Regions from separate parts of the Homo sapiens genome. Here all the other regions are linked to region 2. The links are contacts of gene promoters, found by promoter capture Hi-C in blood cells and fetal thymus (Javierre and others, 2016). All regions are on one chromosome and are shown on one strand. The core of a region is centred on a gene start or on the middle of the fragment in contact, and the rest is flanking DNA. Distances in the headings are between cores, read along the strand shown.

The links. The method cuts DNA at HindIII sites, captures the fragments that hold promoters and counts their contacts. A CHiCAGO score of 5 or more calls a contact.
Region 1: the fragment with the promoter of TMEM200B here is called in contact with the fragment with the promoter of SNHG12 in region 2 in 2 of 17 cell types (total CD4 T cells and naive CD4 T cells); the score reaches 8.1 in total CD4 T cells.
Region 3: a contact is called between the fragment with the promoter of PPP1R8 here and the fragment with the promoter of SNHG12 in region 2, in 6 of 17 cell types (neutrophils, naive CD8 T cells, non-activated CD4 T cells and 3 more). The highest score is 12.3, in neutrophils.

What each region holds. Positions count from the first base shown.
Region 1 is chr1:29,122,274-29,125,621 of GRCh38, forward strand. TMEM200B (transmembrane protein 200B) reads right to left here and starts at 1,630. Exons shown (of 2, transcript NM_001003682.4): 1 at 1,583-1,630. RefSeq lists enhancers at 1,044-1,903, 1,904-2,763, 2,764-3,348. The HindIII fragment of the contact is 10,456 bases long and covers 1-3,348 here.
Region 2 is chr1:28,581,260-28,584,659 of GRCh38, forward strand. It overlaps SNHG12 (small nucleolar RNA host gene 12), which reads right to left and starts at 1,724. Exons shown (of 6, transcript NR_146382.1): 1 at 831-1,724. RefSeq lists enhancers at 1-105, 106-891. The HindIII fragment of the contact is 3,732 bases long and covers 1-2,467 here.
Region 3 is chr1:27,829,427-27,832,636 of GRCh38, forward strand. PPP1R8 (protein phosphatase 1 regulatory subunit 8) reads left to right here and starts at 1,356. Exons shown (of 7, transcript NM_014110.5): 1 at 1,356-1,465. The coding sequence starts at 1,410. It overlaps LOC124903885 (a long non-coding RNA gene), which reads right to left and starts at 2,357. Exons shown (of 2, transcript XR_007065562.1): 1 at 1,323-2,357. RefSeq lists enhancers at 835-1,620, 1,494-1,663, 1,621-2,405 and a silencer at 1,284-1,363. The HindIII fragment of the contact is 9,216 bases long and covers 1-3,210 here.

The sequences.
Region 1 (3,348 bases), core at 380-2,879, 540 kb after region 2:
CGTAGCAAATGGGGCGGGGGCGCTCGGGCCTCCCAGGTCCGCAGGGGTCGCTCGCCGGGCCCCACCTCCCCCCTACTGTGCTTTACATACCGCAGCGCGGGAGGAGGGGGCGTCACCGGCTCCAGCCTCTCCCTGCCCGCCCCCTCCTTCCAGACCTCCTCCGCCCGCAGCGAAGCTGCAGCAGGAGCGACTTGAGCTAGACACCGGGAAGACCGCTCGGATCAAGACCAGCCAGGCAGAGGAGGAGAGGCGGCGCCGACTTCGCCCAAGATTTCCATCAAGTCCACGCATGAGAGGCCTCTCCCTCCCCCAGCGGTCGTGCTGGGGCCACGGCAGCAGGCGGGGGTGCCGGTGCCGGGCGCTGGGCCCCGCCGGACGGATGCCCTCCCGGCTCCCCCGTCGGCCCGGGCAAGGCTGTTCCCAGGTTGCGACGTTTCCAATTCGGGCTCCTCCGGATGAATCATCCCCCTTTCCCGCCGCCTGGCCTCCTTTCCCGCCTCCTCCGCCCGAGGCCTCCGTGGCCCGTGGCCCGGTCAGAGCAGCACCGCCCCTGCGCCTCGGGATCCGGGCCGCACAGCTTAAGCCCTCCCGATTGCTGGCCGCGCCCTGCCTGCGGCCTGTGGCCTGGATCCCGGGCCCAGCAGGAGTAGCCGAGCTGCGTGCGGTGTGGCCCCCACGAAAGGGAGGGCGAGGGAGAAGACGCGGCCCCCGCCCAGGCGCCCCAGGCCGCAGGAGAGGAGGCTCAGGGCCTAGCTGTCCAGGGTCGTCCTCACTGCTCGCGTCCGCTTCCTAAAGAACCACCGCGCTGGAGCCCGCAGCCGAAACCTCGGGGAGGCGGCCTTGCTCCCCGACCCACGCCCCATCTGCACCCCAAACCTCAAAGCAGGACACCCATCCCTGCCTCCGACTGGAGCGCTCAAGGCCCGGGCCTAGCAGGGAGCCGCCACTCTCCCGCGTCCAAAGCCTGGTTTCACAGATTGCAACTACGGCCCAGGGAGGCCGGGGAGACTGCCCGACCCCGCACTAGGCGGGGGCTCTGCCAGGTCCGACGCCGGGCTCCGGGGCCCCAGCCCTAGACCCCTCTCAGGACAGCCACGGGAGTATCCAGGAGGAAGCGAGGCCCATCCCCTCCTTGTCCCTGAGTTTGCAGCCCTTTCCCCAGCCCGCAACCGGAGGAGCGATCATCGCTTCAAGCCAGAACTGGCGCTCTCAGCCCCGGCTCCAGCAAGGTCACCCGGAGCCCCGCGCGTCGCTGCCGCGAGGGAAGCGAAAACAAGCAGAGTGGGGACATGGGGACACGCTCAGAGACCCCGAGCCGTGGAGGTAGTGGGCCGACGCTGGGGACACCAGGGAGGCGGAAACTTGGGGACACAGCGCACAGCCCGACAGAAGATGCTGGGGCCGAGTCCCCAGGACTCCAGGGTCCCGCCACCGCCCGCGTCCACACTCCCGCCTGGGGGAACGGGAGGGCCGCGCTCCCGCCCCCAGGGGCCCTGACCGAGGGAGGGAGGGAGGGAGGGAGGGACCAAACGAAAAGTTGGGAAAAGTGGAGTGCGGACCCCTGGACCCCAGCTCGGCTCACCTGGCGCCGCAGCGCCGCGCGGGTCCGGGTCCCAGTCCGCGCGCGGAGGCTCCAGAGCCGCCCGGGTCTCCACGGCCCGGCCCCAGCCCCGCCCCGGCCCCGCCTCCAGCCCCCGGGACCGTCCGACCCGCGCCGGGCCCGGCCCCACCGCCGCTGAAAGGCGGCAGCTCAGGTCAAAGGATCGCAGGTAGGCGCCCTGTGCGCGCCTGGTGACTCCGGGCACCCGTGGCCCGAGTTCTGCCATCCCCACTCTCCCACCCCCAGCTTACATCGGTCGCAAAGGCCCACAAAGGCGACCCCTTCCTACATGGGGAAACTGAGACCCGGGACCCAGGAGCCCCGACACCCGCACGTCCTTCCCCGCTTCCCAGAGCCCCTCATCCCAGGCGCCCGGGGAGCTTCCAGGAGGAGGCGGCCCGAGTCCCTGCTCTGCCCCGGTCCCGCAGCCCTTGCTGTCGCTGAACCTCGCGGACTTCATCTGTGCAATGGGCACCAAGGCTTCAGCCTCGCAAGATGCCGAGAGGCAAGAGCCAGACGCCAAGGGCCAGCCCGGGGCGACTCCGCAAAGCCCTCAGCGAAAGCAGCGCCCGGGGAGGGGCGGGCCTTGTAGCTGAAAGGACCGGACGGGGTGCGGATGTGCCGCCGGGTACTCCTAAGAACAGGCGCCCCTTCGCCAGTGGGGGAGCGGGCTTGTTCCCAATAACGGGGAGGGTGCTGAGAGCTGCGACCCCGCCGGCGAGCCCGAAGGGGGCGGCCCGGCCTTCGCGCCCTCCCGCCCCTGGAGGCAGGAATGCAGAGCGGGGGAGCCAGGGCGGCCGGCGGTCGGCCCAGTTTCCATGATGCGGGGGGCGGGTTCGGGGGAGGCGGCGACCGATTTCCAGGCTCAGCGGTCAGGCCGGGCCCCCCGGGAGGAATTTCCGGCCTAGGATTGATTAAGGCCCGCCCCTCCCCCCGGCCGTGGAGACCCCCGGCGCGCAGCCGGGGGGAGGGGCGCTAATGAGACCCGGCTGCGCGCCGCGGACAGGGAGGGGACCCGAGGAAGGGGCGGGCCAGGGGCCGGGGCCACCCCCCGACGCGGGGCGGAGCCGGGTCCCGGAGCCGCACGGCCAGGCCAGGCCTTGAACCTGAGCTCCCACCCTCTGGGTCGGCGGAGGAGAGTGGGGGTGCATCAGTGCCCCCCGGGACCCCCTCTTCCAGCTCTTAAAAGCCCCCTCGGGGGGTCGGTGAGGTAACGGGCGGACCAGAGGGACCACAGTGGGGAAGACCGAGCCTCGGCTCCCGGGCTTCATCCCTGCGAGGCCGTGTGCGAGATCGAAGCCAGGGCCTCCTTCTTGCCTCCCCAGTCCGACTGGAGGCTCCTGAGGTCTCGGTCCGCTCCACGGAGGCCTCCCTCCAGCATCTTTGCTTGGGACCCCCGCCCCCATCAATCCTCCGCTTCGTCCACTCCCCGCACACTGACCCCACCGCGGTCGCACCTCCGCCTCCCAGCTCTCCCTCCCACCCCTGGGCTCCCTCAATCCCACTCCATGCCTGCCTCTCCCAGCCCACTGCTCTTCCTCCAATAAGCCCGGCTTCTAGTCTGACTCCCTGGGCCCCTCGATCATCCCCTGCCTCCAGCTCTGTGAAGGGCCCTTTGTCCACCCAAGCACGGGGTCAGCCTTGGCCCCTTCCTCTCCCCCTCTCATCCCACTCACAGAGCCTTGGGGGCCCTGCTCTTTTCATCTGGGGCCAGCCACGTTCTCCCTTTCCCATGGCCACTGTCCTGC
Region 2 (3,400 bases), core at 474-2,973:
AGTTACTTCCTGAAGGTCGCTTAGTCACTTAGCGAGGCTGAAAGCAACAAGCTGGGATGCACGCAAGGGTCTGAATGCCTAAAACCCGTCCTTCTGAAAACCGTGTCTACCAGGGCGACCTCCAGAGGTCTCGCGCGTAGTCACCAGTCCCAAAATCACCTAGCTGGTAAATGTCACAGATTCAACTGGAGGCCATCCTGACACCAGCATGCGGCCTCCCCCTGAATTAAGACACTTCAGGCCCAGGGATTCATCCCCGCATCCCCCAGGAGACCGGTTCCCAAACCCCCACCCCTTCCGTAAACCCGGCCGCCTGCCTGCAACACTCACCTGTCAGCCCAGAGCGCAGCGTTGCGCAGTCCGAAGCGAGAGAAGGGCGCGGCCCCCGCGGGCTCCCGCCCCTCTCACTGCCGAGGGGGCCTTTCGGAGCTCGGGCCCACCGGGTTGGAAGGCCCGGCTCCTCCGTGCCACATTCACCACCATCTCGAGGCCGTGGGAGGAAAAACCCGGCGAGTGCGCGCCAGCAGCAGCGACTAGCGGGGAACGGCGCGCAGGAAGGCAGGCAGAGGCTTGCAGCTAGTAAGTCGACACCGGGAATGCGGCGGGGAGAAAGGGCGCTGAAGCCGCGAGCAAGAGCTTATATAGGCCGCCCCTCGCGGCCACACCCGACAGTAGGCCGCCCGCGTGGCGCACAGCTGCCTGGGAGTTGTAGTTTGCTCGCCCCGGCGTTGTCCGCGCGTCACCTCCCCAGCCCTACGCGCGTGTCCATCCCGAGCCCGCGAAGCGAGAACCGCCAGAGGCTTTCCTCCGAGCGGAAGAAGCGCCTTCACCTTTCAGTGCCCGGCGCTGGGCCCACGCAGGAAGCCGACCCGCCTTGGCCTCTGGAGTTGTCTCTGGGATGTCTTTCAGTCTGGAAATGAACCCTGTGTGCTGGGAAAGGGCTCGGGCTCCGCTCCGAGCTCAGTGGGCGTGCGAGCGAGCAGCGCCTGAGTGGGTTTCGGGGAGGGGGTCATACTCCCCGAAAGGCGATTTATTCAAGGCTTGTCTCTTCCACTAATATGTAATTTTACTGAGCGCGTGCTATTTTAACTGTGTCTGATTATCTGATCTAGTTTTCATAAAAACCCTGTGTACGCTCTGTGGACAAATAAGGAAACTTAGGAATGGATCACACAGCTATCGCAAGCGAGGAGAGGACTGGAATTTGGAGCCCACCCCAGGCACCACACATAGCGCAATGTTTTGCCCATGGAATGAATAAGCCTCAGTATGAAAACTTAGTGGTGATTGCCGAGAATTAAACACCCATCCTGTGCCTAATCTATTAATTTTTATTCTTACATACACTTTTTTGTTTGAGACAGGGTCTTGTTCTGTTGCCCAGGCTGGAGTGCAGTGGCGTGATCAAGGCTCATTGCAGCCTCGACCAACTGGGCTCAAGCAATTCTTCCACCTCAGCCTCCCAGGTAGATGGGACTACAGGTGCGGGCCAACTTTCCTTGCTTACACTTTAAAAAGTAGGTACTACTGCCGGGTGCGGTTACTCACGCCTGTAATCCCAGCACTTTGGGAGGCCAAGGCGGGTGGATCACGAGGTCAGGAGATCGAGACCATCCTGGCTAACACGGCGAAACCCGGTCTCTACTAAAAAAAAATACAAAAAAAAATTAGCCGGGCGTGGTCGCGGGCGCCTGTAGTCCCAGCTACCCGGGAGGCTGAGGCAGGAGAATGGCGTGAACCCGGGAGGCGGAGCTTGCAGAGAGCCGAGATCGCGTCACTGCACTCTAGCCTGGGCAACAGAACGAGACTCTGTCTCAAAAAAATAAAATAAAATAAAAAGTAAGTACTACTTTAGCAGGTCGTGGGGGCGCATGCCTGTGGTCCTGGACTCCTCTCTTTCTCTAACATCACATGTCCAAGCCATCAGCAACTCCTGTGTGCTCTACCTTTAAAATGTATCAATAATCTGACTGTTTCTTACCCCTTCCACTGATGTTACCCTAATCGTTGACCCAGATGATAGCAATAGTCTCTTATCTCCCAGATCCTGCTGTTGCTCCCGACAGTCTGGTCTCCACACGCCAGCCAGCCTGCTAAAAGTTTTTTAATTTTTATGAAGTCTAAGAGTCAATTTTTTTTTTTGTAGTTTATGCTTTTTTTTTTTTTTCTTGAGACGGAGCTGCTCTGTCGCCCAGGCTGGAGTGCAGTGGCGCCATCTCAGCTCACTGCAAGCTCCCGCTCCCGGGTTCACGCCATTCTCCTGCCTCAGCCTCCCAAGTAGCTGGGATTACAGGCGCCCGCCACCACGCCCGGCTAATTTTTTGTATTTTTAGTAGAGACAGGGTTTCCCCATGTTGGGCAGGATGGTCTCGATTTCCTGACCTCGTGATCCACCCGCCTCGGCCTCCCAAAGTGCTGGGATTACAGGCACGAGCCACCGCGCCCGGCCGTTTGTTTACGCTTTAAAAGCTTAATAATTATGCTGGGCGCGGTGGCTCCCACCTGTAATTCCAGCACTTTGGGAGTCCGAGGGGGCAGATAACCTGAGGTCAGGATTTCAAGTCCAGCCTAGCCAACATGGTGAAAACCCGTTTCTACTAAAAATACAAAAATTAGCTGGGCGTGGTGGCAGGCGCCTGTAATCCCAGCTACTTGGGAGGCTGAGGCAGGAGAATCGTTTGAACCTGGGAAGCGGAGGTTGAAGTGAGCTAAGATGGAGCCATTACACTCCAGCCTGGGCGACAAGAGCGAGACTCCGTCTCAAAAAAAAAAGAAAAAAAGTAAAATTATTAAACTTTTTTTTTTTTTTTTGGAGATGAAGTCTCGCTTTTTCGCCCAGGCTTGTGCAGTTTATTCTGTGTCAATTATGCCTCAATAAAGCTGTCAAAAAACCATTAAGAAAAAATGTATATCTCCCAGGCGCAGTAGCTCCCACCAATTCGGGAGGCCAAGGCAGGTGGATTACCTGACATCAGGAACTAGAGACCAGCCTGGCCAACATGACAAAACCCCATCTCTACTAAAAATACAAAAAAAAAAAATTACCCAGGCATGGTGACACTCATCTACAGTCCCAGCTACTTGGGAGGCTAAGGCATAAGAATCGCTCGAACCTGGGAGGCAGAGGTTGCAGTGAGCCAAGATCATGCCACTGCACTCCAGCCTGGGTGATACAGCGAGACTCCCTCTCAAAAAATATATCTATATATATCTATCTATATCTATGTGTGTGTATATATAGATAGATAGATATACATATTATATTAAGGCAGATGCAGTGGATCACCTGTAGTCCAGCTACTTGGGAAGCTGAAACAGGAGGATCACTTCTGTCCAGGAGCTGGAGGTCAGCCTGGGCAACAAAGTGAGACCCTGCCTTTAAAAATAAATAAGGCCAGGC
Region 3 (3,210 bases), core at 106-2,605, 750 kb before region 2:
CTAAGAAAAATTCTTCTGCCTTGGGATCCTGTTGATCTATGACCTTACCCCCAACCCTGTGCTCTCTCCACTCAGGGTTAAATGGATAAAGGGCAGTGCAAGATGTGCTTTGTTAAACAGATGCTTGAAGGCAGCATGCTCATTAAGAGTCATCACCACTCCCTAATCTCAAGTACCCAGGGACACAAACACTGCGGAAGGCCACAGGGTCCTCTGCCTAGGAAAACCAGAGACCTTTGTTCACTTGTTTATCTGCTGACCTTCCCTCCACTATTGTCCTATGACCCTGCCAAATCCCCCTCTGCGAGAAACACCCAAGAATGATCAATAAAAAAATAAAAAATAAAAAACCAGAGGCCCTGCTAATGGTCTCTTAAAACCAGCTGGTGATCTAGGGCAAGCGAGCAATCCTTATGCTTCCTTGCCCTATAACCAAAAGCAAAAAATCCTTTTTAAAAAAATTAACCATTTGAGCCAAGCACAGTGATGATTTGGACCCCTGCTTTCTGACTGGACCTGCTCCTGGCTCCTGCTTGTCCAGAGTTTTCATAAACAGACTAGGTGACCCCTAATGCAGATTCCCTGACAATCTACAGGCCTAAACGTGAATTAGAAAAAAGTGAGTAGGGTGCCACTTTTTGGAGAAGGGCTGAAGAGAAACAATAATCACTCCAATCTCCGAGTTTTGCCCTTTAGCTTCTCCGCTTTGAGGGCAAAAGGCTGACGGTCTTAACCTAAACTCTGGAGGAGGATGTAGTCCCCAGATTTTTTCTTTCTTTACTTTTTTTTTTTTTTTTTTTGAGACGGAGTCTCGCTCTGTTGCCCAGGCTGGAGTGCAATGGCGCGATCTCGGCTCACTGCAACCTCTGCCTCCCGAGTGCAAGCGATTCTCCTGCCTTAGCCTCCCAAGTAGCTGGGATTACAGGCATGTGCCACTACACTCGACTAATTTTTGTATTTTTAGTAGAGACGGGGTTTCACCATGTTGGTCAGGCTGGTCTCAAACTCCCGACCTCAAGTGATCCGCCCGCCTCAGCCTCCGAAAGTGCTGGGATTACAGACGTGAGCCATCGCGCACGGCTTAGTCCCAAGATTTTAGAGCCAAGAAGCGTTTGCAGGAGGACGTAGGGAAAGACTGACTCCCCTCCCTACAAAGCCCCTTTTCCTTTGACACCTCCTGGCCAAGGAAAACCCTAACCACTGGAGACTTCCAGAGACGGCCAACTCGCACAAACGCTGAAAAAAAAAAAATCCCAAAAGCTCCTCTGTCCCCACTAGAAGCACCGCCCCCCGTACGGGCGTGCGTGAGCGTGCGTACGCACAGGCTGCTGGGATGCCGCTTTTCCCTTCTCGGTCTTCCAGTTTCCCGGCGTGCTTAGGGCGCGCCAAATGGGAGGGGGAGACGCAAGATGGCGGCAGCCGCGAACTCCGGCTCTAGCCTCCCGCTGTTCGACTGCCCAACCTGGTGAGTGGCGGGGCGGCCAGGGCTAGAGTGGCCCGGCCGGAGCTAGCCTGGGCTGGAAGGGCGGCTCTTTTTTTACTTTTCTGCTGCGAGCCGAACGGCTCAGAAACCCCGGAATGGTTGAGGAAAAACTGTTTGCTGCACCGGGCCGGGCGACGTGTTGAAGAACCGAGAGCCTGGAGCCCAGGCCCAGGAACTGAAGAAACCCGGGGTTGGGGGCTCAAAGGCGCTCACTTAGGCAGCCCCTTTGAGCGATTAGCCAGTCGCCGGAGCGCTTCGAGGCCTTGGCCCGAACTTACGCCCAACTCTTGACTGAGTGCCTGGTGCTCTCGTGGAGCATCGCATCTGGCCCCTTCCTGTACGTCCCGAGCGCGCTCGAGCCAGCCCCGGCCCCAACCCTACCTCCAAGCCCCGCATCCCTCTGTGGTTGCTGCATCCCTCGTGCGGCACTTGTCTGTCTGCCACAGAGAATACGAGGGTAGGTTAGCGCCATCCCTGCCCTCAGGGAGCTCCCAGTCTGTGGCACTAGTAGGCATTAGTAATGGTTGGCATGAACCCTTTTTATCCCTTCGAAAGTTCTTGGGAATAATGAAATAATTTAATTTGGTCTTTGAGTAGGGTACAAGTTGAATAAATATGAATTACCTTACAAGGAAACGCTTCTGAATTAAGAGTTTTTTTCTGCTGTAGCTCATCGCAGTGTATTGTTTGTTGCTTGTCTCTGTCTCCCGTTGTATTGCCATCCTCAAGGGCAAAGACTGCATCTTTGTATTCCCAGCTCCTAGGCCTGAGTCAGGCACATAGTAGGAATTCAGAAAGTATGTTTTGGATGTAACATTCCTCCTTTTTCCTGGACAAAATGGCCTTTTGTCCGGTGCATTGTCCTTTCCATAGAGGAGGGGTTGGGGCAGGATTGTGAGATGACTGTGTTGAATCTTCAGTTAGCTAGACAAGGATACGTTTTTTCATGTGCAAATCTAAAGGTTCTAGTGAGGTGGTTCTTTTTTCTAACTTCAAATTAGCAAACCCAAAAAGCAAGCAAATGTGTGGCTATTTTCTGGATCGCTTTGCACTTTTGTAGTAGTTGCTTCAGTCTACAAATTCTGTATCCATTTTGATCCCTCGCTGTATTGATTTCAAATTTGGGCCGAGATAGCAAACATAGTTAGAAAGCACTGTTTTTGAGATCACCTACCCTTTCCTTAGGATCTGGTAGGTACCAGGCACCGTTAGGTGCTTTGACATATGAGTCTCCCTTGAATGGTATGGCTGTAGGATATAGAGGAAACGTCCCCTAATCATGCTGTTGTAGAAAGACCTGTTTCAAGGGTAACATATTCATTTGGTACCTGGTTTCATGGGGCATGATTTTGAATTGCCCTAGTTCCCTAATTATGCACCTCTGATTTGGTTTCAGAGCTCAGGACAGTACTCTTTGCTTACTCTGTGATGAGACTAATCTTGATGAGCCCCAAACAGCAACTAATTTATTCGGTCTTTATATGATATTGGAGTAGGGGTGGATTTCAGATTCAAACTCCAGGTGACTAGACCACCCCAGCTATCGTACTTGCACTCTCTATGCAGTTCTTTCTCTGAGGTGAAGATCCAGTGTTAAAATATAGGTTTCTTGGTGCTGCTCTAAATACAGATCTACTAAAATCTGTTGCAGAGCAATTGAATCACTAGGGAAGTAAGTGTCAAACGTAGAATGGAGCTGTAATAACAGTGAAGTGGATGACATTTCT